Linked DNA regions of Homo sapiens: all the other regions are linked to region 4. The links are contacts of gene promoters, found by promoter capture Hi-C in blood cells and fetal thymus (Javierre and others, 2016). All regions are on one chromosome and are shown on one strand. Each heading gives the region's core, a stretch centred on a gene start or on the middle of the fragment in contact. The rest is flanking DNA. Distances are from core to core; before and after follow the strand shown. Region 1 overlaps PARD3 (par-3 family cell polarity regulator). Region 2 overlaps PARD3 (par-3 family cell polarity regulator). Region 3 overlaps PARD3 (par-3 family cell polarity regulator). Region 4 holds the start of NRP1 (neuropilin 1).

Evidence for each region. The method cuts DNA at HindIII sites, captures the fragments that hold promoters and counts their contacts. A CHiCAGO score of 5 or more calls a contact.
Region 1: a contact is called between a fragment that was not itself captured here and the fragment with the promoter of NRP1 in region 4, in 1 of 17 cell types (monocytes). The highest score is 5.6, in monocytes.
Region 2: a fragment that was not itself captured here is called in contact with the fragment with the promoter of NRP1 in region 4 in 1 of 17 cell types (endothelial precursors); the score reaches 5.4 in endothelial precursors.
Region 3: a fragment that was not itself captured here is called in contact with the fragment with the promoter of NRP1 in region 4 in 1 of 17 cell types (monocytes); the score reaches 5.1 in monocytes.

The regions. Positions count from the first base shown.
Region 1 is chr10:34,185,194-34,192,212 of GRCh38, forward strand. The region is part of intron 22 of PARD3 (par-3 family cell polarity regulator); the gene reads right to left. Among named protein-coding and RNA genes, the nearest start is that of LINC02629, 280 kb to the left of the region's middle. The HindIII fragment of the contact is 4,511 bases long and covers 3,351-7,019 here.
Region 2 is chr10:34,123,933-34,131,157 of GRCh38, forward strand. The region is part of intron 23 of PARD3 (par-3 family cell polarity regulator); the gene reads right to left. Among named protein-coding and RNA genes, the nearest start is that of LINC02629, 220 kb to the left of the region's middle. The HindIII fragment of the contact is 1,093 bases long and covers 709-1,801 here.
Region 3 is chr10:34,163,797-34,170,960 of GRCh38, forward strand. The region is part of intron 22 of PARD3 (par-3 family cell polarity regulator); the gene reads right to left. Among named protein-coding and RNA genes, the nearest start is that of LINC02629, 260 kb to the left of the region's middle. The HindIII fragment of the contact is 1,593 bases long and covers 2,327-3,919 here.
Region 4 is chr10:33,330,958-33,338,773 of GRCh38, forward strand. It overlaps NRP1 (neuropilin 1), which reads right to left and starts at 3,710. Exons shown (of 17, transcript NM_003873.7): 1 at 3,353-3,710. The coding sequence starts at 3,425. The HindIII fragment of the contact is 8,759 bases long and covers 1,307-7,816 here.

The DNA of each region.
Region 1 (7,019 bases), core at 4,356-6,855, 860 kb after region 4:
TGTAGTTTCTGTCTTTATCTCTGTTATTTGCACTTCAAACCTGGAAAAACAGTTGAGAGGTTATGTAAGCATTGTCCTGGGTCCTGATCTGCAAATTTCTTTGCCAACTTTTATTGGTCTTTGAAAACTGCATTCCTTTGTCCTAAAGAATGCTGTCTTTCATATCCTGTCATTAGTATTATACAATGTTAGGAGCCAATTTGTCATACAGATCTCCAAACATACTTAAAAAGAGAAAAGGGTCTTTAAATTAGTCTTCATGTATATTAAAAACAGAAAAAGACAAAAGGAAAAGACTGAAATCTTTTAAAGTAATTCCTTCATTTACTGGATTTTTTTTCTTTTTTCTGTTCATGGGCTCATATCTCAACAGTTACTGGATATTTATTGAATTTTATATGCAACACAGACACGGCATTTATCTTTAAGATATTTTTTGCCTCTCATGTTTTAGCTCCAAGACATCTAAGTCACTTTGGTAGAAAGAAGCCAGGGCAGGCAGTGCCCACACCTCCTACTCGAGGCTTCATTTCTGAACTAGAGCAGTTACAGAGAACATCACAGGACCCTGAGTAGGCAGCCAGGTAAAATAATAAAACTGAACACAGTAACATCTTCTATATTATATTATATTATATTATATTATATTATATTATATTATATTTGCATAGGAATATCCATATTACACATTATATTGCAGAGTTTTACAGTTTAAAAAGTGCTTTAAAATGTGCCTCCTTTAATTCTCACAACCCCAGGGGTTACGTATCACCTTCATCTTACAGAGAGGAAACCTTTGTTTCCAAGGAGTTGAGCGGCATGTGTAAAATTGCAGGGCCAGTGAAGGAGCTCAGCCTGAACTTGGGCCCAGGGAGCAGTCAGGACTTGGAGAAGGTTCTCTCTCTCACCCTGCAACCCAAACAACGAGCAGGGGGGAGGCATCACATAGGGGAGGAGATGCAGGAAGAAAAGGAAAGCTCAGGCCACGAGGACACAACTTCCTCAAAACCCAGCCCTAAAGCCGGACGGGGTAGCTCACGCCTGTAATCCCAGCACTCTGGAAGGCAGAGGTGGAGAGATGGCTTGAGCCCAGGAGTTCAAGGCTGTAGCGGGCTATGATTGCACCACTGCACTCCAGCCTGGGTGACAGAATGAGACCCTCTTAAAAAAAAAAAAAAAAAAAGAAACCCAGCCTGCCTCCAGGATGCTCCCCAATCAGATTCCCAAACACTGGGATTTTCAGGTGCAGGCTGGAATTTGGACCATTGTACCCTAATGGTTCCGACCCTCAATCTCACCTCACTGTTGGACTGAGAGAGCCATTCTGGAAGAAGTCATCACCAGGACCACAACCAGTTGCAGAATTTATGTATCACAGTTTCTTGTTTTCCCTCTGATGAGCCCAGAGTAAGCTACCATTCCCAGGGAAGAATGAGGGGAGCAGTTGGGGAACAGGAGGAGGACATAAGCAGTGGCAACCTCAAAAGGCCATGTAAGATGCCATCCTGTGACCCGTCAGCCTCTCCTTCCTCTTCCCTGGGTGCCAAGGACTCAGCCGTCTGTCTCTGCCCACAGACCTTCTGGTGTCAGCCCCTCTCTCCTGTATTCTTAATGGCTGAGGTCTCCCCTCTCCACTCCAACCCTTCCCAACAGGACTGTGACTTCCTAAAGGCAAAAGCAGGGCTTCATTTTTCTTGGTCTTCCCTGTAGAGCTAGCTCCAAGCCAGGCATTCCAAAAATGCCTACTGAATTCGCTCCTCAAAAATCCCAAGTCAAAACCTCCCTTTCCTCTCTCCTGCTGTTTAATTGATAGTATGAACTCACAATTCAGTGCTTAAGAGCATTACCTTCTGGAGCCCCAGCACTGGCCCAGCTGTGAACAATGAGTGGTGTTTCAGTTTATTGCTACGTGAAGTCTTGGGTCCAAGTTTTGGGGGTCCCAGGGGTACATGGGGGTAGAGAGTGGAGACGTTAAAGAACTGCCCTTGAAAGCTGCCAAATGCCTTCACGTTTTACCATTTAGAGATGCTTTAATAGCAGCAAGAGACAGAGTACTGGGCAAGAAGTATAACAGAGCATCTCAGTGCTATTGAAGTGGCTCCACCATGACAATGCAGGGAACTGTCATTTAAAATTTCCATCTGTTATAAACATGTCCAAAAGTCCCAGGCCAGAGCCCACACATTCCTGTACCCACCACAAGTACAACAAAAACAGATGCTTGGAAGCTCCACTTTGAACAAAGGCAGGCCCATTCCTAGTGGTGATTAATTTCTTCTGCATCTCCTCTCACAGGGGGGAAAAATCAAACCACAATATTCATCAAGACATTGTCTAAAAGGGAAAAACAACAAATTCCATGCTAGAAAGCCTTAGCACAAGGAAGTCACAAAGAATCTAAACAACAGTTTAGGGGAGTGATGTAAATTTAGCCCCTAAAATGTTTTACACCTTAACCTCCTTTCTGTGATTCAGATCTCCTCACGTTTTACGGCTAAATTGACTTACATGACATTCACTATCCACATTGGCAAACTGTTTTCCAACTGAATGGAGATCAGTAACACGTTCCTTCTTTTTCCTGGGCAATGTTAATTATGCTCTCCAAAGGAAAGCAGCAATGCTTTGATTTTAAGGTATTCCACTAAATTACTTTAAACCAACATAGTCAATCTAAGATGAACGATATACTATCTCTCTACCGTGGCGATGAAAAACTTCCTGTGACCCTTTCTAGGATGGGACAACTAGCTGTCTGGGTAAATATGGCTGCGGAGGAACGTGGAGCTGCAGATAATTAAAGTGCTTTAGAACACTCGCCAATTGATTTTCCTCTTGTAAAGGTAGCTCAATTGAAATGTTCAGCATAAATCATGTGTTAGAATTATCTTCTGAACTAAGAGCTGAGAGCATATTGATTAATAATTATTTGCACTAACAGACTCAACTAAGGCAATATCATCAATTACCTCAAAAAATTGGCTCAGATCAATCACAATGGAATCGCCTGAGTTGGAAGATTCATTGTCTTTTGTTTGGTATTTAAAGAGATCAACAAAGAGGCAAGGAGGCTCTTGAACACAGTCCTAAGTAAGCACTGCTGGGTTGGTTAGAATCACTTGCAATTACTTCTGAATATTATATTGATCTAGACCTTTTTAACTCAGGAATGTGTCTCCCACGCTTCCACTGAGTGGGAGGTCTTTAGGGTAAACAAACGTTTTTTACTTATGATCCAGGATAACATGCAGAGTCTAAGGAATGCACTTCTGATGACAAAACACAAAGACAACCTGGGCCAGAAAAGAATTGCCCAGGATACCCACCAGCCAACGGTACATGCACATACAAGCTTTACGTACACCGACACATGTGCACACACACCCAAATTCATTCACAGAATAGAAATAATACTATTCTGAAATAATACCAGAAAATACTTCAACCTAGTTTCACACACTTGAATGTGATTTGGAATGAAAACATCACTCCAAAGGGTTGAAGAATTTGGGGCTTACATAATCATCCTATATTCATATGGCAACTTAAAATCGCTTTTTTTTTTTCCAGCAATGATGTTCAGTTCCAATTTTCCAACTCCCCAGAAGATGCTCCACTGCTCCACTCTCTTGCCACCATGGTCATTCCAAGAAACAAATCTGACCACAGCACTTCTCCCCCCACACCCTTCCCAACACAGCATGGACTCTGCAACCTGGTATGAGGGGCCTCTGCTTCACTCCAGTCAGTCCCATGGCTCCCAAAGTGTGGTCTATGGACTCCTAGGGGTCTACAAGATCCTTCCAGAGGTTTTACGAGGTCAAAAGTATTTGATAAAAATACTAAGACATTTCTTGGCTGGGAGCCATGGTTCATGCCTGTAATCTCAGTGCTTTGGGAGGCTGAGGTGGGAGGGTTGCCTGAGGCCAAGAGCTCAAGACAAGCCTGGGCAACATAGAAAGACCCTGTCTCTACAAAAATAAAAATAAAAATAATAAATAACCTGGGCATGGTCCCCAGCTACTTGTGAGGCTGAGGTGAGGGGAGGAGCCCTTGAGCCCAGGAGCTGGAGGATGCAGTGAGCCATAACAGTGCCACTGCACTGCAGCCTGGGTAACAGAGCAAGACTCTACATTACAAAAATAAAAATAAATTTTAAAAATGCTGCTAAGACATTTCTTTCCTTCTTTATGGGGTTAACACTTTGTTGGTGGTGCAAACGCCATAGGGGAGGGGGCAAAACAGCTGGCAACTTGGCACAGATCAAGGCAGCCAGTGTCACCAAACGATACTAGTGGTCACTGCATTTGCCCCTCTGAGCACTTGAAGGAAAATCAATGCCAGCATCACTTAGGCATGCCCTGGATGAGGCAGTAAGTATTAATTTGGTAAATCCTGATCCTGAGTAAGTATCTTTTAAATAGTCTGTTATGAGAAGGCAAGTACATGTTTCCATGACCTACTGAAGTATGATGTTTGTCTCAAGGAAAAGCACCTGTGCAATTGAGTTGTGAGCTGAACTAGCCACCTGCTTCACAGAACACCACTTTTCCCAAAAAAGGACAACTGACAAAAACCTGTTATTCAGACTTAGGCATTTAAAAAGCCATTTTCTTGAAAATGAGCAAAATGAGCCTATCCCTTTGAGGAAAACCACTGACAGTATTTGTTGCCAATGATAAAATTTGAGCTTTCAAGTGAAAATCAGAACTTTGGAAAACTTCTGTCTACCATCATGACTTTGATGGTTGCATAATTAAGATTTCTGTTATCTTTTTTTATTGTATGACAGAGTGTACCATCTGTTGGAGGATTTGCATAACTCAGTGGTCTCACATTTTCCAAGTGACCAATGCATGGTATAAGTAAAACATTCATGGGCAAAAGGGCTATTGGAGGTGCAAGAGAGATGAGCGGTTTTAAGGTAGCTGTAAGAAAAGTTCCCTAAGGTTTTAGGTTTCACATTACAATAACTAGTAAGAAACTACCACTTGTCAAGTTTTGATCCAGAAAAATATCTGCAATTAGATTGTATTGTCTTCACAGACATTAAACAACACAATGAATCAGACTGACTAAAGGAGCAAATAGGAGGATCTTGTTGTCTTCCCTTCATAAGCCAGACACAAAGAAATTTCTAAAAATCTAAGACAATGCCACTGGTCTTACAATTTTTTATTCTGCACAGTTATTTATATAAAATGTATTTTATAATAATACTTAATAAGTTCATTATTGTTCATTTTGAAGGAATAAATGATTTTTAAATTTCCCAGTTTACATTTCAGTGGGAAATATCAACAGATATTTACCCAAATAATAAACTAAATGCCCTTTGAGGTTCTCAACAGTTTTTAAGAGTGTAAAGGGATCCTGGGGCCACAAAGTTTGAGAAACACTGCCGTAGTCTTATCTCTGGGCACCTTCTCACCCAACACAATTTCTGCCCTTGGGAGCCCATGGCCTAAATGGGAGATACACCAGGAAACAACTCTTCAGTGTACTGCATGATAAATGCTGTAACCAGAGGCCGGGAATGCAACAAAAGAGAGCGTGACAAATTCAGCCTGGGAGGGTGAGAAAAGAAAAAACTCTCTGAGGAGTAGGAAAGTGAGTAGGAGTTTTCCAGGCCAACTTGGAGGATGCCGGTGGGGAGGAGCAGAGAAAACAGCATATGCAAAGGCACAAAAATATAAATGGCAGCATGGCATCTCGCGGGTCCTGTAGTTCAACTAGGCTGGTGTGTGGAATGCGGGGAGGAGAGGAGACATATGAGTGCAATGTTAGATAGAGCCCAGACCCCTTAAGACAGGAAAAAACTTAACAAGGGAGCATCAGAAAGGCTTTAATCAGGAAATGTTATGTGAGATTTGTGTTTTAAGAAAAAGCTGTTTCATCAACGGTGTGGAGAAAGGAGTGAGGAAGTGTGTGATGAGATGGGAGAGCAGCTAGGAGGCTACTGCATAAACTCAGGTAAGAAATAAAAATGGCCTAGTGATAGCATTGGCAATTTGCAAGGAGAAGAGGGCTGATAATGGCATCATTAACCAGGAGAGATTTAGAGCGGAGAATAAGCCACTATAGAGGAAAGTTATAGAGCTGATTTTGGAATATGTCGACTATGGTGAATGTGGGGTATCCAGGAAGTGGGCAGCTAGATGTAGTCTGTGCTATAAGTAGAGGAATCACTAACCCAACCAGTCACTGGCTGAGAGGCAGCCACTGAAAGTATCAACGAATCAAAGAGGGAGAGGAGCTCTAATTGACTGGAAGGCATCAGGCCCAAGTCCCATAGGAGAAAAATCTCCTGGCCCAAGGAGGAAACACCAACTGTGACCCTTCTGATTAAACCTAAGTAGACTTGCTGGATATTTGGAAACAGATGTCACCAGCCAGAAGATGCTTTTCAATTCACAGTCCTGCATGGTTTGGTCTGTGCTTCAGCCTTGGGGGTGGGGGTGGGGGTGAAGATGGGGTCTGGGAGCCTAGGGGGAGGGAGGATGAAAGAAGTCTGGCATTGATTCAGAAGGATTCCTGGCCCCGCTGAAGAGACAGAGCAGATCCAACTCCCCAGTGAAGAACAACAGTCTCAGCGTCATTTTCTAATTCCCCAGCTCAGACACAGACAGGAACTTCAGATTAGGGAACCTGAGTCTAAGAGAGAATTTGTACACTGCACATGATCAAAACTTAATGAATGATTTCTCCTCTGTGAGGCCAGCAAATAGAGACTATAGGCTTACAGGCTAAAACACGGGCTCAGCTGAAATTGGAGGAATATGCCATCTGGTAGAAAGCAAGAACTCTCACTAAAAGAAGTGGAGGTCAGTGGAACACTTCAAAATCAGGCATTCTGAAAACTAGCAAAAACCACTTTCCTGCTTGTTTTTTTTTTTTCCTTTTTGAGACAGGGTCTGGCTCTGTCACCCTGGCTGGAGTGCCCGGCTCATTGCAACCTCTGCCTCCTGGGCTCAAGTGATCCTCCCACCTTAGCCTCCTGAGTAGTTGGGACTACAGGC
Region 2 (7,225 bases), core at 5-2,504, 790 kb after region 4:
AATATGCGAGTGTGCTGCCACTTATGAAATAAAATCATTGTTATATTAACATATACATAGAATATTCAATAATTTCAAATAATCTATCACTTTTCTTCTTATAGATAAGGAAAATAGTGTGTAAGTATGTGTGGGTGTGCACGTGTATATATATATCCACACACATATGTAATATTTTTATAAAGGATCACTTTGAGCAGATTTTCTCCTTAAATTATGAATGATAAAAATCTGCAAAATTTTGTATGTCCAAGGGCACATATAGAAAACAAAAAGTAAAATACAAAACATTCAGGCACTTTGGATGAAAACCTGTGATGAAGATGATGGTGAGAATGATGCTGATGACAAAAAGACTAATGGCATTCCCTTGAGATTCACAATCCTTACTTTAGCAATTCACATGAGCTGTGACCCTAATAGGAATTCCATATTCTGATAAGAGTAGCAATTTAAAGATTTGGTAGGGAGCAGAAATCATTTTTATGCCATTAAATCATGTGAAGAGTGTCAACTGTTGACTCTGTTGAAAAGTGGCCAGTGCTAATATTGGTAATTATTTTCTTCAGTAGACTTATGTACAACCTTTAATCAAAACAACGTTAACTTTTGTCTACCCATCGTGCCTTCCCAGCCTTCCGCACCCACCCACACATGCCATAATTATGTAACTATTGACTGAACTCTTGTGGGTCTTGAATGTTGAAAAGCTTAATTGCTCCTAAGGATGTGAGTAATGGCTGAAAAGACTGCAAAGCACACCCGTTTCCCTCATGAAGTTTTTAGAAATGAATGTTTTGGTCTTAATTGTATTTGTCTTCACCTCATCTTTCACACCAGTGCTTAGATCTTTTATCCCCGCCCCCATCTTAAGCAATAGGAACACTGAAAATAAAAAGGTTGCTCTACAAAACAAGCCAGGCACTTTAGTATCTGGGCTAATGGCAACCCAAGGTAGCTTCAGGAGTTCCTACCACACAGGGCTTCTGAGCATAGCATGGCCATGAGTCACAGAGCCTTTGGCTGAGGGACAGGTCACAGGGCAGAATAAAGTGCTGACTTTGCGACAGTACAGAGGCTCTCTCCATGTGTGATGGGCACCTCTCTGCAGATGGCTTATCTCCAGGTCTATTTCTTTCTTTTTTTTTTTTTGAGACGGAGTCTTGCTCTTGTCGCCAAGTTAGAGTGCAATGGCGTGATCTTGGCTCACTGCCACCTTAGCCTCCTGGGTTCAAGTGATTCTCCTGCCTCAGCCTCCTGAGTAGCTGGGATTACAGGCACCTGCCACCACGCCCGGCTAATTTTTGTATTTTTAGTAGAGACGGGGTTTCACCATGTTGGCCAGGCTGGTCTTGAACTCCTGACCTCGGGATCCACCCACCTGGGCCTCCCAAAGTGCTGGGATTATAGGAGTGAGCCACCGTGCCCGGCCCTCCAGGTCTATTTCTATGCGAGGTGATTTCCACCCAACTAGAGCTAGGGTCATACTCATTTCAAGGCTGTCAACTAAGGCAGCATTTTTTGAGTCAAGGCATGGAGGCCGCTAGGAGAAAATGAGAGCAGATACTTTTTAAGTCTTAAAAAAGATGGAAACGAAAGGAAAACCACCATTTTCTGAAATTGCCCAGGCACAGGGAGGCAATCTAGTGGTACAGAGTGGCTGTGTGCTATGACTGCCTTGCCAATTAAAGCAGGCAGAGCCCTAAGAGGGCAGGGAGAGCTATTAAAGTCTGAAACAGGAAAAGGGAGAAAAGGACAGATTTTGTTATTCATTGAATGACGGACAGCTAGGAAACAAGCAAGCTTGAGGGAGAAGAGGATATTCACATTGCAGAGTATCAATTTTCTACCTGAAGGACTAAACTACTTTCAGTCACTCCCAACCTGGGATGGAAAGGATTTAGCAATACAGCTATTATTAAAGGCTCCATTATCCCATCTATCAGTCGTCTCAGCCAGCAAGTCTCCTTGTTGGCAACACTCAGGTATCTGCAAAGTTTTTACGGCATACTGTACTTACGTCTGCAGCCTGCAATTTAGTTCTTTTAAAAGCAACACTAAGTCCTGTCCATATCGAAGCTCTGTGATAATAACCCTAACCTCACCTATTGTTCCATTATCTTAAGAAAGATTTAAAGCAACTTGCTGCTTTATTTATGTTGCACCTGGCACTACGTGAGGAAGAAGTTGCCTTTTCTTCTTCTCTTGCTCAACTTGGGAGAGAATTCACTTCAATTATGGAGCTAAGGAAATTTTCTGGGCCTCTGCTCATCTAAAGACCTTTTGTGCCACAAATCAGCTCCCTCAGGCCCAGACATTATTTTGAACAAAGGCCCAGGAACAGGTGCATTCTGTACTGCTAGAGCTTATAGAGAACATTTTCAAAATAGGTAGATTGAAAGGGCTACTTGGATGAATTTTCCGCAGCATCCTGCTCTGTATGTAAAGTAATTGGCTTACATATTTTTCTCTGTGACACATCTGGCTGCACTTTGTGTGTGGGCATTTCTAACAAGCATGACAATTTCAACTAATATGGGCTCAGTTGTACACACAGCTTGAAGGTGAGTTTGTGGTTCCTTAAAACTAAAATGATTACAAACCATTCCAAAGAATGAGATCATGGTCCCATCCCTTCCAAATACAGTGACCCTTCAAGGTCAGAATACATAAGAGAAGAGAAGGATTCCAAGATGCAAAAAGCTCATTTTGTAAAACAGATAATTAAAACCATAGACCAAGCTACATTTTAAACAACTGAGCAGCTCTTCCTAAGGTAACCATAAGAATTGGTATGAAAATTAATACACTAAGTAGAATTCCAGTCACTTTAAGCTCATTTACATGATCAGTAAAATAGAGCAAGATCTCAGTTTCTTGAAAATGAAAAAAAAAAAAAAAAGAAAAGGTCAACTTGTGACCCATAATTTAGGAAATGATTCCATTTCTAAGGTAATCAGCCTGTCATCCAAATAATTCCCTGCTCACTCATTACCGGAAATGCTAATACAAGCCAAGTTGTCTGTCTGAAGTTGCTATGGCATTTTGATATATAATAATGTGGTCCATGACCTTCAGTAGTTGAGTTTCCAAATGTACAAGATTTTTTCAAACATTTTCCCTAACATGATTGTTCATATTAAGTAGATAACATAGAAATGCATTCCAGCCTATTCACTGTTCCCATTCAAAGTTAAAATCTTATAAAGAAACCAAAATGAATTTCAAATCATTTTCACTTTTCCCAATGAAAAACATCTAGATACTAAGACGTAGGAAATACTCATTTAGCCTCAAACAAACCTGGAGGTCTCGCATGTGGATACAATGTCAGAAACCAGAAATAAACTCATCAATCTGAGTTCTCAAAGACATATGTCTGCTTCTCTGTTATATATTTAAAATATATTCCAATTTCAAAGAGGGGTTCTTTCAAGCCTTTTCTGACCACCGCACACTGATGTGGTCCTCACAGCTCCGTGGTTCTCAACACCCCATGCACACCCCTAGCCTACCTCTGCTATATGGTACCAAGTATTCCTTTATTTTTTATCAGTTCTACTGGAGAGTTCTGAGGGCATTTTTTCTTTTCGATCTTTGTTCTCCCATACCAACCACAATGCCTGGGACATAGTAAGAACTCAATGAATTTGATGAATTAAATAATTAGTTAAAGAGTAAATGTCAAGATGCTGGTTTGGAATCCACATTCCCAGGCAAAGTCAAATGGCGAACACTGCTCCTCATGGCATGGTATGGAGAATGATAAGCTCAGGCGGGGCTGTGCCAGGTTGGAACTGTGTGCATGTGTGTTAACTATTTCCATATTCAGCTGCTGTTTTCTCCTTCAGCTTGACACCATGCTCATTACTCTTTTCAGCCTCTTTGTGTAAATATACATAGTTAAGAATTTATCACACATCACAAAAGAATCCTGTTTCAAGAAATGTAGTAGGAATGGATTGAGTCAATTATGCCAAACAATATAAGCAGATTAACATAATTCTGTCATGTTGCTACATGGGAATGACTCAATGTACTTGATCATCTAGGAAAATGAACTAAATACCTTAGAAAAATGCCATTAATAGTAATATTGTTGCAGAAGACAATTAGAGATTTTCCAGGGAACTTGTTTTATAACCTCCCAAAGTTAGGCAAGAATTGATTTCATGAGGTGCTTTTACACCTGGATGCTGATCCCACATTGCCAGTTGCCCCATCTTCCTCACCTGAACTAAGTTAAAGCTCTTCAAACTACAGTTGACCCTTGAACACCATGAGTTTGAACTTTGAGGGTCCACTGATACACAGAGTTTCTTCCACCTCTGCCACTCTGAGACAAGACTTACTCCTTTCTCCTCCTCCCCTGCCTATTCAATCTGAAGACAATGGAGAAGATCTTTATGATGATCCACTTCCATTTAAAGAAAAGGAAATGTATGTTCTCTTCTTTATGATTTTCTTAATAACATCTTCTTTCTAGTTTATATTACTGTAAGAATACAGCATATAATACATAAAATGTACAGAGTGTGTGTTAATCAACTGTCTATGTTACTGGTAAGGTTTCTGTTCAACAGTGCGATATTAGTGCAGTAGTTAAGTTTTCGGGAAGTCAGAAGTTGCATGGGGATTTCTGATTGTGTGTGTGAGGAGGAAGGGGGATGGTCCTCCAACCCCCATGTTGTTTAAGGGCCAACGGTAGTACTGCTTCTCCCATTTTTTCCTCTTTGCCTTTGCTCCACAAAATTAATCTTCCTCAAACCCTAATTTGGTCACTAAATCCCTTAATGAGCAGCATTTATAGGTTTCTTGCTTTATGTAGAGTAATATATTGTGAGTATTGGGTTTCAGGACCAAAAAGGACCTCAGAGATCGTCTAGACTTTAGAACAGTGATTCTCAAAGTTGAACTTGTTTCAGAATGAGTTGGAAGGCTCATTAAAAACCAGATTCCTGGGCCCCACCCGTAAAGGTTTACATCTAGTAGGGTCAATGCAGGGACCAAGAATATGTATTCCTAACAAGTTTCTAGGTGATGCTAAAGGTGCTGTTCTGTGGACCACACTTTGAGAAGCTCTGATCTTCAGCAGCAGCTAACAGGATCCAGCCTCTGTAGTCAACTAGAGGGGTTCTACTTGCATCTGCTTTACATTTAGCTTCTTCTTAAACTTTCATTTCATCCAAGGGTTTAGTAACTGACATCCAATCATTTATTCTTTCTTTTCTTTTTTTTGATTCAGAGTCTTGCTCTGTCGTCCAGGCTGGAGGGCAGTGGTGCAATCTTGGCTCACTGTAACCTCTGCCTCCCGGGTTCAAGTGATTCTTCTGCCTCAGCCTCCCGAGTAGCCTGGATTACAGGCATGTGCCACCAGGACTGGATAATTTTTGTATTTTTAGTAGAGATGGGGTTTCATCATGTTGTCCAGGCTGGTCTCGAACACCTGGCCTCAAGTGATTAGCCCACCTTGACCTCGCAAAGTGCTGGGATTACAGGCACAAGCCATTGTGCCTGGCCTGCAATCATTTATTCTAATCTTGGTTGAGAGATAAGAAAACTGAGGCCGGAAGAGCCAGGCCACCTGGCTACTGGGCCAGTGTTCTTTCCTAGCACTATTTCTCTTCAAACTTTCAATCTAGCATTGAAGGCTCTTCCTACATTTCTACCTTTAATCTCCCCTTCCCTTCAACATAACCAACCTCTCAGCTGGGTAGTTTACCCTTCCTCAAATCAAATGTTCCTTTTTTTTTGTAATGTCAAGCCTCTTTTTTTTTTTTTTTTTTGAGCCAGGGTCTCACTGCAGTCCCAACCTCCCAGGTTCAAACAATCCTCCCAACTCAGCCTCCTGAGTAGCTGGGACCACAGGCATGTGCCACCACATCCGGGTAATTAAAAACTTTTTTTTTTTTTTTTTTGTAGAGATGGGGTCTCCCTATGTTGCCCAAGCTGGTCTCAAACTCCTGGGCTCGAGCAATGCTCCTGCCTTGGCCTCCCAAAGTGTTGGGGTGATGGTATGAGCCACCATGCCTGGCCTCCAGCCTTTTATAACACCATTCTTCCTTCTGTCCTACTCTTCCAAATATCTAGTAAATGATATTCCCAACACTTTGTCTGAACTGAACTTGTCAACTTTATGGACACTAATCTCCGCTCTACTTCTGTAACTCACGTGCAAAGATGGCAGGCCTTAGACCTCAACATCGTCTGAACTATCGCCTCTACTTCCAAGATCCTAGAGTCCAAAAAATACACTGTTTTGACCACAACTTCCTAGGCTTGAGAACCCCTAGATCCTGAGCCCTCTTGCACACTGCTAGGCTGTGAGGCTAATCCTTCCTTGAGCTATACTTGCCACCCCACCTGGACCACACGATGCTTCCCCAGTATCCTTGGTAGGACTCCAGCACCTCCCTTGGCTTTCTGCCATGTCTATCTTCCAACCCCCACTAAAGAATTAATCCACAAATTTATTCCTTCTATTCCCAGTCTTCTAAGCATTGCCGGTTAGGTCAAATTACCATGCTGCCTGGACTTCCTAATACCCCATGCTAGAGTTTCCTACCTTAAGCAGCTTATTTATTCACCTCTAACAGACTCACTCTCAAGTCTCCCAAAGAAATTCTTCAAACTCCCCATCATCTCAAAAAATCTGTCCCAACCCCTCCACTCTCAGAAGTGCTGTCATCTCTAGGGTGAGACACAAGATCAGAACACAGTTCTGGCACTGAGAAAGCCATCTGAAGTTTTTTCACTCTGGTGGCTATGAGGGGGATGAACTGGAATAAGATGGATTCAACAAACACACATGGGGGGTGCAAAAGATTAAAGAATCAAGAATTACTAGACCTGGCACAGTGGTTCACAACTGTAATCCTGACACTTTGGGAGACTGAAGAATGAGGATCACTTGAGCCTAGGAATTTGAGACCAGCCTGGCCAACATAGTGAGACTCAGTCTCTACAAAAAACTAAAAAATTAGCCAGGTGTGGTGGCACTTGCCTATAGTCCAGCTACTCTGGTGGCTGAGGTAGGAGGATTGCCTAAGCCTAGGAGTTTGGGGCTGCAGTAAGCTATGATCGCACCACCGCACTCCAGCCTGTGTGACAAAGCGAGACCTCATCTCTTTAAAAAAAAGAATTACTAAACACTGTACTTTGTACATTACAGGCACAATGGAGAAGTGCTGAACAAATTAATTTTGGCTCTGATTCTGAGAATATG
Region 3 (7,164 bases), core at 1,873-4,372, 830 kb after region 4:
GAGAATCCAGGATGTTTTACAGCAAGGATCTACTGGAAGAAGGAAGGAGTCCAATGAGTAACATTAATACTCTGAAATAATGAATTCTTGTTATTCACATCAAATGGCTACAAGAGCAATAAACACCTGAGGGAATGAGGTAACAAGGAGCAAAGTAACTCAACTGGATTCATATTCCATTTGTTAGTTTAAGCAATTATTATTATTTTCTTAATGTCAAGAGTAAACATGCACAAAATATGGTTAATTAAACCACCACGCTCATAGGTCTTGTGAAAGACAGCGAGTAGTAAATCACTAATACAGACATTGTGCAAAGCGGAAAAATAAACAGCTACTATGGGAATTCAAAACAAAGAGCCACCAACTAAGGAAGAAAAGGAAGAATTGGCCATAAAAAAAACCTGCTTCTGTTTTTGTAACAACTTTGAAAGATGAATAGGAAAGTTTGTTTATTTCCAAGGTGAACTTTAATCAATGAACTGTTAACATCATTAAATACACTGAAGCATGTGCACCATGTACTTCTGCAAAGGGCAACTGTATGCAACTTCTGAATGCAACTGCCCTCATCATTCTTGTAATCTCCAGGAATTAATCAAAAATGGCAAATTTCAGGTCATTTGATATGATAAGAATACATTTATAACAAATATATTTTGTCACATCTGTAAATATTCCAGAAAGGAAAATTCTAAAGCTTTCAACTAAGAGTAGTATTTGTTGAACTATTCTCAGCAGAATATGACAACGTAAGACAACAGAATTGTGATCATAAGCAGGCGTCTGAATGAACCAGAGACCAGTCATTTCTTTTTCTGCTTTGAGAAACATTTAAGCAAATTCCAGTGACAACTTTTGTGGATGTGTTTTATAGTTACAGCAGAAGACGACATGCAGTTTTCCTGTGCAGAAACAATGTAAAACTGAATTGTATGTAAAGTTGTTCTTTTTTCAAAAATCAGAAAGTACTACTTGTAGTTTCCCTCCTAGCTGGACGCACACACATACACACATATACAATTATTTCCATAGTCATTTTGGGGATGAGCGAAAACAAGCAATAGCATTTCTGAAGCGCACTGACTAAATGTATTCATAATAGTAATCAAGTCATTTACTGAAAAGGTTCTCAAGAAATCACCTGGCCATGACCTGTCACTTCAGCCAACTGCATGTAAGATAATTTAACGTTGATTGATACTAGACTCTCCTTTTTTTCTCTTAAAGATTCTTTGTGGCCCCTGTTAGAAGACCACCCTAACATTTCATTATCTTCTAAGATACAGACTAAAAAAAAAAGGTTCCTTTAATTTCAACTAATTTCTCTTTATTTGGGTCTCTGGAGAAACGGGGAAAACTTGTCAGACTCATCCTTATAAAACCCTTTGCACCTCTGAGAATATGAACTAGGTCTCACCCAGTTTTCTCTTTTCTGAGCTGAACTGATCTCAATTTTAACTTACGTGGAGTCTCACATCCATCCCTTCAGTAGTGTCTGCTGAGCTGGCCAGCTTCTTCACTTCCCTTTTGAATGTGGAGGATATTAGAAATTTTACTGTGGCCTGCCATCACTATCTCTAGCATGCCAGAACATTCTTATATTAAAATCAGGACACTTCGAAATTTTAAGAGCCAGAACCATGTGTTTACTGGAATTTTCCTCAATGTCTAGCATTTTGCAAGGTGCCACTGGGAGACAAATGTCCTCGTGCCCCAAGAGGAAAAACCGCTTTGTTCTTGCACAAGGCTAATGCACAGAGCCAGTGCCACCCCTCTCTGCCTTCTCAACACCCAACAATTTGGCCTTAAGCTCCCACTGCATTCTCAAATGATGTTCTAACAGCTTAATAGAGTGAGTGGCCTGTTTTTGGTCTTCACATTTCTTGCAGAACTTGACCCTGCTGGCTCTCCTTTGTTGACTAAAACGTTAATTTTCCATGTTTGTTGAGGAGCAACCCAAATTACTGCTCATCTTTTACATCTCTTTGTTTGTTCCGTTCTCATTCATTGGCTGGTATATCCCATATCAATGGTCATTTTCATGCAGTGAAATCTACCTCATCTAAAAAACACAACCATTATTCTAATCACCTGGTAAGTGTTTCACCTGAATATGTTGACAACATTTTGAAATATACATATACAAGAAAGAGCTATATTTCTCACTAACCTTCCTCTATTTCTATTATCCCTTTATCGGTTAATGCTATCGCTATTCTGTTTTTAAAATCAGTCACTTGTTTCTTTCTTTCCCTAAACCTTCCCTCAGATTCACTGAGTTGGACTTACAGATATGAAGTACTTTATTGCTGATAAAATATGAAGCTTTGAAAAAGTTGTTCTATTGGAAAAAAATTAATTAGAAAACAAAATTAAATTTAGCAATAGAGCTTGGTGTGTTCCAAAGCATGGACTATGCTTTCTTAAGTCTTGATGGATGTTAATTCTTTCTCTGAGTCTCAAGGCAAAGTTCCATTTGACCCTGACATAAGCAAACACCAGAAATCTCACGTGCATTAAAAAAAGCTCAGGCCTGGGCGAGGTGGCTCACACTTGTAATCCCAGCTCTATGGGAAGCCAAGGCAAGAAGACTGCTTGACGCCAGGAGTTCAAGACTAGCCTGGGTAACACAGTGAGATCCTGTCTCTACAAAAAATATATATTTTTTAATTAGCTGGGGGATGGTGGTGAGCCTATAGTCCCAACTACTCAGGAGGCTAAGGCGGGGGCAGGCAGGCGGAATTGCTTGAGTCCAGGAATTTGAGCCTACAGTGAACCATGACCATGCCGCTTCACTCCAGCCTGGGTAACAGAGTAAGATCCTGTCTAAAAAAAAAAAGAGTTCAGAAAGGACTCTACACCCATGTACCCTGGCTGGGACTGCCCGATGCCCCTTCCTTCTTCCAGGATGAGTGTCCACTCACAAAACACCAAGCAAGCACCCCCACAACACACACAATAGCCAACCTATAATTCTCCTTAAATACTTCTTTTTTAAGAACACCAACTAAACGAGAACCTTAAAGATTGTTGTAAGGTGTGTTTTTTCCTCCATTTCTCCTTAAGGAAAGGTGGCTGGCATGATTCAGCATCAACATGCCAAATATTCTATCTGAAACTATACACTCTGTTAGAGTCACTATTTGCAAAACAAAACTATCACACTAGTGAAGGGAGTGATTTGTGAGAACAAATTAAAGACGCATGACCAATTTGTCTGGGCAGTAATGATGTAAACCTGCTGTACCACTAAAGAGTTACGCCTGCTGCAGCGTCGAGCTTGGATTTTCTGCTGTCTAAATCTGCCGCTTACGGGCCTGGGTCTGTGTGTCTGAGGGAATAACCTGTCAAGGAAATCTCCCACTTACCCACAATGACCAACTATATGCTGTTCACTAATAAGTATTCATATAGACCTTACCTCCAAAAAGTTTGACTATAATAAAGTATCCTTAGCTCAAAATTACACAGAACACCTCAGGGTCACTGTGAACATCAACCATCGTTGCACGGGTCTGCCGGCATGTGCATTTTGGTGTGTGATGGGTTACTGTGATAGACTGCATGCTACACCATACACAATTAGTCTGCCAGTAATGCTTTTTCACTTTAATGGTCTACACTAGGAACAGCACTGCGTGGTTTTCGTGAAAAGGTGCTCCATAAATGACAAGACTTTTTCCTTCTCTGAAGAAATATGAAACATTAAAAAAAAAACACCCCAAAGCCCCCAAAACCCTCAAGTCCTGAAGTTACTTCTGTGGTTAGCAGTAGAAAATGGCAAAAGGTAATATTTAGGTATATGTAAGGAAGAACATCTGAAATGAAAAAAATATGAGAACGCATATGGAAAGCAGAACCGAATAAAATAGAAAAACGTTTTGCTTAAGGGTAGTTTTTTCTTTGATATATGCTAAGCTTATTCTATCAACTTCAGCCAGAATAACTTGTTTACGCTTGAACGTGTCTCTGCCCTAGGAATGGAAGGTCATTTTATAAGATGTATTTAATTTCTAATTTGTTTTCTAATTAAATTATTTTGATAGCTTCTCATTTGTGTCCTCTGATACAATAATTAACTCTTGATACTAATTGAAATATCCACTGACCCTATGTCCCCAAATCATGGACTACCATGAACAAAAAAAAGGGTGACCTCTGGCCTTCATGTTCCCAGGGGTGCAAGAGGGTTATGTTGAAACATGAGTTTTTTTTTGAGCAAAGGTCGTGTCATAGTAATGGCTTAATATGGTTTTTTTCTTTTCTTCTTTTTTTCCTTAATGAAAAGGCTGAATATTTGATAGAACTGTAACATTCATTTTATAGCTTTGGTATCTGTTGTTGAAATAGTGTTCTGAGATGTGAAGCTTAAATATTTTATGAAAAATACCTCCTCCAACAGAAATGTTAATAATTTAATATATGATAAACTACACATGAAGTTTCAGAAACAGTTATTTAGTGGTAGTTTTATATTTGATATGAAAGCCTAGTAGATCACTCCCTTGCTGCGTACTTTGATTTAAAATGGCAGTTTTTCTGCAAAATTATCTTAGTATAAAACATGTCACTAATTTTAAAGTGACTTTGATTATTTTATTTTTTGCCTTTAATCCAGAGAACTGAGAGCCTGTTGATGAGTGATGCCAACATGTCTTGCCAAAGCATGATTTTGATGTTAAATATCCAAGGCCACACATTGCTATGTGGTTCCATTTAGCCAATACTTCCTAAGACACTGGTGGGTCTCTCTAGGGCAGGCGTGTGATTTGGTAAGTCATTGGGAGGGCGAGGAGCTGCACTCTGATATGTCCTGACAGGCCCTCCCCGCGAAGGATTCATTGGCTCTGAGGCAGTTACTGAAAAGAGCAGCTATAATCAACAGCTGTGTCCTGATGTTTTGCCAATCTGTGCTCATAAAACATGATGTTTGGTAACATATTTCCAACACAGTTTGCCTTTGTCTTTTCAACACCAAAATTCCCACTTCTGTATTTTCTTTCATCTAAGAATTTCTAAATAGTTTGAGGGCATTAATTATGCCATACAAAATCCTCTCACAGTAATTACTGATGTTCCTGCTTCCTAATTATGTGTAATACCAACAAATCCACTTTCTATACTGGATTGCACCAACGCTACCTAGAAATATCTGCTGCCTTGTTGACAAATAAAGAGCTCTCAAATGTAGAGTACAGAATCTTCTCTGCTCTGCATCTTGCTTTTGCACATTAGATTTTGGTGCTGAGCTTCTCTATGTAAAATGCCTCTTCTGTACACAGTACACACTTTCCCCTTTGAATAGGAATTAAGTTTACTGGCTACATTTCTTGATCAATTTCAGACAAACCGGGGCTAGGTATATCAAAGACAGTTACAGCTGCCAGGAAATTCAATTTCTATGTGCTGTGCATTGCAGGAAATAGAAAGAAGATCTGTACAATCTTTACTCTCAAGATGCTTACAATTGCACAAGAAGATAAAATATAGAGCACAGTGAAAGAATAAGTTCCGTTTTCCATGATGGTGACAAAAGGAAACAGAAAATAGTTTGGGAGAAGACACGCAGGAGAGCAGGAGATGACAAAAGAAGCTGGATATTCTGGTGATAAACTTGGAGTTGAAAGTTCATCTCTTAGTTTTACTGACAAATATAATGAGAAACTTGAAAACCCTAAGGGGATGATACATGAGCCAGGGGATGGACAGAGAAGAAAACTTTGAGGTGGTCAGCTGTTCCTCCTCACTACTAGGGACCAAATGGAGAAAAATGGGCATGTGGGGATTTAGATGAGAGAAAAAGAATACCTTTCTGACAGAAAGACTTATTAAACACACGATGGAACAGGTTAGAGAAGGAAACGATGAAGATGTCATCTGTGAAAGTCTTTAAAACTGGGATACAGTTTCAACAACCTAAAGAATGGAGTGAAAGATGGCACGTATAGACTCATGGAAACCACAGTTAAGGCATTATGGCATTAAGTTCCGACAATTGAATGAAGGTTCCCTGGATACCTCTGCCTGGGGTTCTCTCTCTAAGAATGATGGCCACAGGGGGCCACCAGCTTCTTTTAGACAGCCTCCCCTGCCCTGCAGGATGTATCTGCAGGGTGCCCAGCAAAGAGGAGCCCAGATTGTAACCAGAGAAGCAAGGCTCAGCTTCTGTGTGACATGAGCTGACAACACTAGATTCACTTGCAGAATCCTTAACATATACTCAATCCACAAACTCAAGTTTGACATTATTAGACGTTTATAGCTTTTCAGAGCTAATTTAGGATACTTTTGTTGTTGCTATTTTTTGAGACAGGGTCTCACTCTGTTGTCCAGGTTGGAGTGCAGTGGTGCAATCATAGCCTACTGCAGCCTCCAGCTTCTGGGCTCAAGAGATCCTCCTGCCTCAGCCTCCCAAGTAGCTGGAACTACAGTTGCACACCACCACGCCCAGCTAATTTTAAAATTTCTTGTAGAGACCGGTCTTGCTATGCTGCCCAGGCTGGTCTAGAACTCTGGTGTCAAGCAATCCTCCCACCTCAGCCTCTCAAAGTATTGGTATTACAGGTGTGGCCCACCATGCCTGGCCCTTAGGAAACTTCTTCAGTCATGGATCTATTAATTCAATAACTTCATTGAGTGCCTCCTCTGAGTTAGGTGGTAGACACAGAGATGCACAAGACAGAGACTACCCTGGGGAAGACTGGCATGTAAACAGTTAATTATATACCACTGTGACAAACATCAGGATAGAGGTAAGCATAGAGTGTGTGGGAAGCACAGATTGTAGACACTGACCCTAGACAGAGGGGCCCAGGGAAGGACCACAGACAGACACTGGGTTGATCCTAGAAGGAAAGAGGCAGCTGATGCAGGGGGAGAAAAGCCATCTTTCTAGATAAAGGGCATGGCATGATTAAAGACATTCCATGTCACAACAAAAGAGGATTATGAGAAAGCCTACAGCAAGAGGGAAACTGGCAAAAACACCATCTAGACTAGTTCTATTTGCCTTCTACTGCCAAGGTTGCTTTTTAAAATATTTAAGTAAGACCTTCAGCCTTGATTAGTGCATCTGTCATATGAATATGTATTTGCTGGCTCCCTGGAATAATGTGCTAGACGCGGAATTCAAATGCTCTTTCATTTACCAATGGCTACTCA
Region 4 (7,816 bases), core at 2,460-4,959:
GGTTATTAAACATTCCTTAACTTTTTAAGGGGAACTCTAAAAGGTCCCCGTAAGTCCTTCGTGTGGCTCTGAGTGCAACACTCCAGGAAAAAACACTCTTTGATCTCAGGAAGGTTGACTCAGGCAGAAAGCCAACTGAGATCTGAGAGGACTCTTCCCCCCAGCCCCGAAGTTTCTTCCTAAGGAAAAGGTCTTCTAGCATTAAAAACATTAAATCCCCTCAATTGATGTTAACATGGTCCCCTGGGAGCTTCTGCTAGACTTAATTATCCCCCAAGAAGTGTAATCACATTAAGTAGCAAGTTCTAAGTGGAAAGTGACTGAAAGATGCTGTTCGACCCCTTGTGTTGTTTTTTGATGATAAGCCTGGTCTATGTCATTGATCAGTGGGGATTGTCTTTGATTGGCTTAAAGCCAAACCTTTTGTTGTTGTTGTTTTATCTGCCCATAAATCTAAGTGATTTTGAGTTATCTCTGCTCTTGAGATCCAAATCAACAGAGAACAAAGTATATTTGGTGAAGCAGAAATAATTCTGCTTTACTTCTCCAAGTAAAGTTGTTCAAGCTTGGAGATCGGATCAAAGCAACGGGGCAGAAGGAAAAGTAAATAGCCACATGGCATTAATTCTAATTACCTAAATGTTGGGTGAAAAATAACCCACCACACAGGTCTGGGTATCACATATGGTAACCCACATTCTCACATTCTGGGAAAGGTGAGCTAAGTAGTTTTGAGCCTTCATTTCAAAAATGCTCAAGTGAAGCCAAATAAACCAAGTAAACCAGTCTCTGGGCTGCCTATATTGTTCAGCATAGATTCTCATTGTCACATTTTATGATGGATTTCATACTGGAGCACCTCAGCCTGAAATGCTGCCACATTTATTGATGCTTAATTTTGAGCAATAAAAATTCGGTGCATAAACTATATAAGAGAAACGGTATGAAAACAGTGAAATATATAAGCCTATCAATCACAAATTTTCAGTAATGGTAGATGTAGATTTTAACACTGCATCTAATAGATTCCCTGTGGAAAGAGAATGGCATTCTTTGCTCTCAGCATGAATTTATAAATCTACAGAATTTTATTACAGGAAAACCAGGTCAAATGGAAATGAAAGATGAAGTGCACATCAAAAATGCATAAAGCTACATGCATTACAGAAATCATTTCCCATAAATTAAAAAAAGAAGACAATATAAGTTATATTGTTTTTCTCAATCGCTAGGTGCTTCTGACTTTGTTCCTTAGACTGGGGGTAGTCTTATGCTGGTTTCCTTTGCACTGGCTTGTAAAAGTGTAAGCTTTGCCAGGAAGAAATGATGTTGCAACTGGAGTTCAAAATCTCAGCTAATGATCATGTTGGACTCTGTTATGTGATTCTGCTGAGACTCTTGCATTATTTTGAATGTGCAGAAAACTTGGAAAGTGACCTCGTCTCATTAAGTTTCCTCTAGCTCTGGACAAACATCATGGTAGTGTCTGGCATCTGTTACAGGAGTGAAATAAAACAGCACTGGTTCTAGTCACTCGACAGAGTCACTTCAGAAGACATTTAGGTGGACTTGGTACCACACCAGAGCTCTTTAATCTGTGACTTCTGAGAAAGTGACAGTGTAATAAGATAATGTGGACTGCTAGACTCCCTGGCTCTGTTCAATCTCTCTAGCAGTTGATTAAGAAAGAGCAGTTTCTAATGACTCTGGACCATTAGTCCTAAATAAGGTTAATGAATTAATTTAGCAGACACTGGTTACTCAGAGGAGGTGGACATGGCTTTGAGAGGTCTGCTGAGTTACAGAGGCATTTTCTGGCTCTGGTCACTTCAAGCATAGCGACATGGCTTTTGCTGGTAAAGCTCAACAACTAAAGCCAGATTTTCAGCATTCCCCAGATTTCTGCTAAGAAAACTAAGAAGTGTGTGTGTGTGTGTGTGTACTGCATATATATTTGTGTAGTTCACAACCTAAAGTCTGATAGCTCTTTGCATTGAGCTTCAAATCTATCTTGTGAACACCCCCACTATGGATTTAGTCTCAAGAGTTGTGGAGGACAGGGTTACTATAATTTCTAGTCCAACCATTTGAGCTCTTTCAGTTGGACGAGAATGCTATTTCATTCCCTGCCAGAGTATAGAAAGATGCTACCAGCTCAGGTTCATTAATAAATTGAATTCTACATTCATAATTTTTTGTGTCTTGCTTTCCTGCCAGATTATAGAAAAATGCCATCAACTTGGGCTCATTAATAAGCTGAATTCCATGTTCATAATTTTTTTTTTTGCATGTGTTTTGCTTTAAGCATCTCTTAAAATACTGCTTGGTAGCTGCTGAGGGAAATCCATTGCTAAAATCACAAAACCTTGAAAAAGCATATTAGAGAGATTAACTTCCATCATAAAGATGTGATTTAAATTCCTGTTGGTATGAGGCCCTCCACTTGCGGTCTCTTATTAAAACAATATACCACAGTAAGTAGTGGATGTTCTTTTCTTCTAATTACTGTGATTGAAATCTAAGCCAGACAAAAGTAAATATTTGATCATTAGTTAATAACAATTGCTGACGACTTACTGTAAAGATAATTGCATACCCTTGCCTGCACTTACTTTACAGTGTGAAGTCAAACATGCCTACAACCAGATCCCATTTTAAAACACATTATTTAGGTTACATGGTACTGTTTAGACCCCAGTATAGTTTTTCATTTACTTAACAGTGAGTGATTTTAAAAGCTAAGTGGAAGCTGCAACTAGCTTAGGGATTTTCAGATATCCTGGTGCCTTACACTGTATATGTCAGATTCCTGTATTGATACTATGTAACTTTCAGTCATACTCCAGACAGATTACGGAAGGTGTACAAAGGCGGGGGAGGGAGTTTCATCAACCCACAAACCGATATCTCTGGCCGTCACCCACCAGAGGAAACGGCTTAGGGGAGCAGCAAAGGAACCAGGAAGTAAGATCTCCTGGTAAAGTGTTCATTAACTTTCAACAGCCATCAGATTTTTGAAAGGGAGTCTCTTCTAATTGCCTTTGGGAGGAAACATTATTAAGATAATTGGCATGCTGATCTGGGAAGGTAGACAGCTCTGTCTTGTAACAGAGGTAAGGAAAAGCCCCACAGCCCAAGGATCAACGTCAGGAGGGAGCCCAAAGACCTGAAATCCTCCTGCTCTAAACCGCCTGATCTCATTTCTTCTTCTCTCCTCCCAGATAAAAGTTTCCTTCGCCCGGGAGTCGGTTGTTCCCGGCTGATCCCGGGAAGCCCCGCCTGAGCCCCGGTCCGGGGCGGGCAGCTGGGAGCCGGGGCGCCGCTGTCACCCGCGCCTCTGCCTGTCACTTACCGTTGCGAAAAGCGCCGGCCGGGGCGAGGACGAGGGCGAGCACGGCGCAGAGGAGCGGCAGCCCCCTCTCCATTCTCCCTTCTCCGGGTCCGCAGGCAGACGCGGGAGAACGAGGACGTGGGGGGAAATGCAGCAAAGAGGAGAATCTAAGCGATCCGAAGAGCCCCAACTCCGCCTAGAGCTGTACAATCCTCAGCCCGTCTTGGAGAAAAGAAAGCAGCGAGGCAATGCCTGGATCCGAGAGGAACGCTTCTCTTTTTGTGTCTCAAGTCGCCTGCATCCTGTCATTTAGCTCCGGCTTCCTCTCCCTTTTCCCACACTTGTTCCTCTTCCAGGAGCCACTGCCCGGGCCATGTCTCAAAAAAAAAAAAAAAAAAAAAAAAGGCCGGGGGGGGGCTGTGGGTGGGAGGGGGAGGAGGGAGGTAGGGCAACACACACCAAAGCCAATTTCCAGGAAGAAAAAAAAAAAATCCGGCTTGTTTCTGGACCCGTTGGAGCCGCGGAGCTGGCGCCCAGGGGAGGTCCGGGTGTCTGCGGGAAGGAGGGGAACGAGCAATGAAAAGATGAGCGGGAGACAGAGGAGTTTCACCAACTGCACCCCCGCCTCCCCTCCTGCGGCCTCCCCCCACTCCGGAGCCCTTCCCTCGCTTCCTCCCGCCCCTCTCCCCGCTTGGGCTCGCCTGTAATTGCCTGACAGGAGACTGGGAGGAACAACTTTCCCTCCGAGTGCTCTCCCCGTCCGTCTGTCTGTCTTTCCCAGAGACCCTGCAGGGATCTCCGCGGGAAGGAAGGCGCTGGGAGTCTGCGCCCCGGTCGCGTGGGTGCGGGCGTCGGAGGAAGGGGCGCGGAGGTCAGTGCCAGCCGCAGGGTCTGGCCAGCCCACCTCGCGTGCTCGCTCTGCACCCCTAGAGGGAGAGCTGGGCAGCTCCTGCAGGCGCAGATCCCGCCGCCGCGCAGTGCGGAGCGCCCGGGAGGTGGCGGCTGCTTCTCGCAACTTCAAATCCCGGGGCCCGCGCCCTCGGCGGCGAGGAACGCAGGGTCACCCCCTGCCACTCCTCATCGCGCCATCCTGAGACCTGTGGCGGGGAGCAGCGGGGCACCCCTGGACGCCCCTGCCCAGAGCTGGAGGGCGAGGAGGGGAAAGCCGGGCTGGAGTGGGAGCCGCACCGCGAAGCCGGGCGAGGGGCAGCAGTGTCGCTGTGGTGTGAAGCGAAGACAGACCGCCTGGGCGGGCGAGGCCGGGCTGCAGCCCCACGCGGCCTCCCTGGCCCGCATCAGGGCGCGCGGCTGGGTGCCCTCTGCGCGCCGCGGAGGCTTCATTGTTTCCCGAGATTTGGTGCCCGTTCCTCTGGGGCAGAGGGAACACCGGAGGGTGGGAGGTGCTGCGCCTTCCAAGCAGGGGGGCAATCGCCGCCCGACCCCGCCCAACCTTGTCTGGGAGCCCAGGTGCTAGGGAGGGGTGTGGAAATCAGGGGTCGGGCGGCCCCCGTTTCTCTGTGCATCCCGAGGGAGGGAAAGAGTGGCGGGGGAGGGGTGCTCTTCGCTGCGCCCTCTCAGTGTCCGCTCCCGGCCACAGACAACGTGCACGCCGGCCCTGGAGCTCCTGCCACCCCCACTTCCCACAGCGGCTCGTGCCCCCAGCCCGCTGGATGCCCCCCAGGCCCGTCCCCGAGGGTTTTCCGAGAAGTGCTGCAGGAAGCGTTTGTAGATGCGAAAAGCAAGGACATTTCTGGGAAGAAACAGGTTGCGGTCACCGATCAGGCCCCGGAGAAGGGTCAGTGCCCACGGGGCACCTCCCAGGGAGTTTGTGGGTAAGGTGAAAAGGTCACACGCCTCCTGGGGATTGGCGTCTACACACACAGCCAAAGTACAGCCTGATTCCTACCTGGCACAAATAGCTGGCCAAAGGGAGGTAGGAATGCTGGCAAGGAGACTCTGGTCAAAGGTTTTGGCGGAAGAAAAAGGGGCGGGCAGGGAGAAAGCCCAAGGCGCGCGGGCCCCAGGCCAGGACTGCGCGCTCGCGACTCGGGCTGGGAGCAGTGACGTGCGCCCCTCGGGGTGCAGGCCGTTCCCGGGCCAGTGGGAGGTGCACCCACGGAGCCCGCACTCGCCACTCTCTTGCCCCGGGTCAAGCCTGTCTTCTCCTCCCCACGCGCCTCGGGATTCCCAGTCGCCAAGTTGGAAACTCGGCCCCCCCGAGCGCCTCTTTCCTCTGCCAGTTTCCTCCTTCTTCTCAGCTGTCGGACCCCTGGGAGGCGCGGGGTGGGAAGTGGGCACCGAAGGGCTGGGAGTTAAATGCCTAAGTTGAGCGGAAGGAGCACTGTCGAAGCCATGGGCAGCCCTGCGCCCGGGCAGGCGGGCAGGCGGGAGGCGAGGCGGGGGCGCCGACCGCGCCCAGCGCAGACCCCGGGGGAGTGAGCGCCGCAGAGGCAGCCTGGGCTCTCGGCTACTACCCGCGCGCGGTCGCCGCCTCCCCAGGTGCAGCCCCGCCAGTCCCAGCCCCCGGCTGCGCCGGGCGAGCGGCATCATCAGATTTAGGGTGACCCGGAGCGACCTCGGTCCAGGCTCGGAGGGAGAGGCGCCTCTCAGGACCTGGCAGGTTGACAGGGAAGGGGAACCGGGAGGGAGCGGCGGCCGGGGCGGCCTGGAGTCTCGGAGGCCCGCCTGCGTCCTGGGGGGACCCGACCTCCGCGCTCGCTCCGGAGCGCCCGTTTGGATAGCTCTGAGCCTCGGCGGGGTGAGCGAGGGGGCACACGAGGGAGACTTGAGCTGTGTTGTTTTTAGAAAACTGCCGCCAATCTCTCTTCCCCTTTCCCTGCTGAGTGTGCATTTTCCAGCCTAGACCCGCCAGGCCAGCAAATAAAGCCACCGGATCGTGCACTCCGGAGCGACTGCCCCCACCCCGACCTTGTCTTTCCCGAAGGGAATGGCTCCTCCGGCGCCTCAACGCACAGAAAACGCCTGCCTCCAGCTGAGCGCTTTTGCCAGCTTTCTCCAACCAGTGAATAAGGGATGCACTATGGACTCAGAAGGAAATGTCATATTTAAGTTCTGCCTCTGATTTCTCTGCTCTTAGCTGATCTAAGGTTTTTCTAGACTCCTTAGTTTCCACTCACAGTGCTGGGTAATGGAGCCCTACCGCACTGATTGAGAATTGCCGGCCAGTGGGTTGGTACAGAGCAAATTGTCCTTGCTAACAACCTTTTTCCTTTGCTGTTGGATTCCACTAAGTGGTGAGAGGGGTCAGTTTTAGATTTTTGCAATTCCCCAGCGTGGAGACAGGCCGGCTCTATACGAGAATAAGTGATAGGCAGAGGAAGAATTTGGCAGTGTTCCCGGGTTGATTTTATTTTGGTCTCTTGAACACATTATTCTTCCTGATAGAACAAATCCCTGGACTTGGTAGGACCCAGTTCCAGGGAAGGGAAGAGTCCTCTACCGCACCCCCAGAACGCCCTGCAGAGGCTGTGAGTGGGCAAAGCCCAGTTTCCTGGACTCCCACTTAGGAGGTGCTGCAGAAATAAGGCCTTCAGCTGGGGCTCCCTGAGTCGGATTGGAACCGTGGCCCATCAGTAAGAGTAGACTGGATGGTAACTGCTCGATTCCTTTCATCAAGCTCTCATCCCTTTGTCAGAAATAGATGAAATCGATTGCTCCCAGAAGGCCATTTGAGCCACTAACTCCCTCAAAGTACTTCAGATTCATGCAATATGGAGATTCGGGTTGGTAGTTCAAACTGCATCATATCTAGTCAAGTTTTTTGAAAACATCAAACCCATAAATTTCAGAAAAGCAATACAAGCTCCATATTTTTAGTAGGAGCTAACCTAGTTTTGAGATGTATGAATAGATGAAGTGAAACTGGAAAAACATTAAAAGTTGGAATTTTAATTAACTAATGTTTAAAATAAGCCTATTAGTGGTTATTCTGTCAAGTGACTGTGTCATGCAAGAGGTGTCATCTGGGCCTCATTTTTGGCCATCTCCTTGATTTGTACTGACAGAGAAGGAAGGAAATAAACAAATGAATCTTCACTTTCTGATTCTACCTTTTTAGCCTTTTAAAAGTTACCTTGAAAATTCCTCAAATATTGGAGAAACGACTACCAACTAAAACGTTAACACAAAGTTACAATGTGAAGTTTTTGTGATACAGTATATTTACTAACCAACAAGATGAAGAAAGATAATGCTAAATTTTGAATCACACTAGATTCAAAACATTTGCTAGAGTAGAGGTTACAGCCATATTTGAAAACTGTATTATTTTTCTGAGATAATAATATTAAATGATTTTGCCTTCATTGGATTACTTTTAAATTGGGAAAATTAAAATAATTATAACCAACAGAAACACTCTTCAAATCAATAGAGACATCATTAGAGAGAACATATTCAAAATTTGAAAGGACTGTTTTAAATAGGGCAATCTTTAAAATATAATTTGAACAACCAGAATAGAAA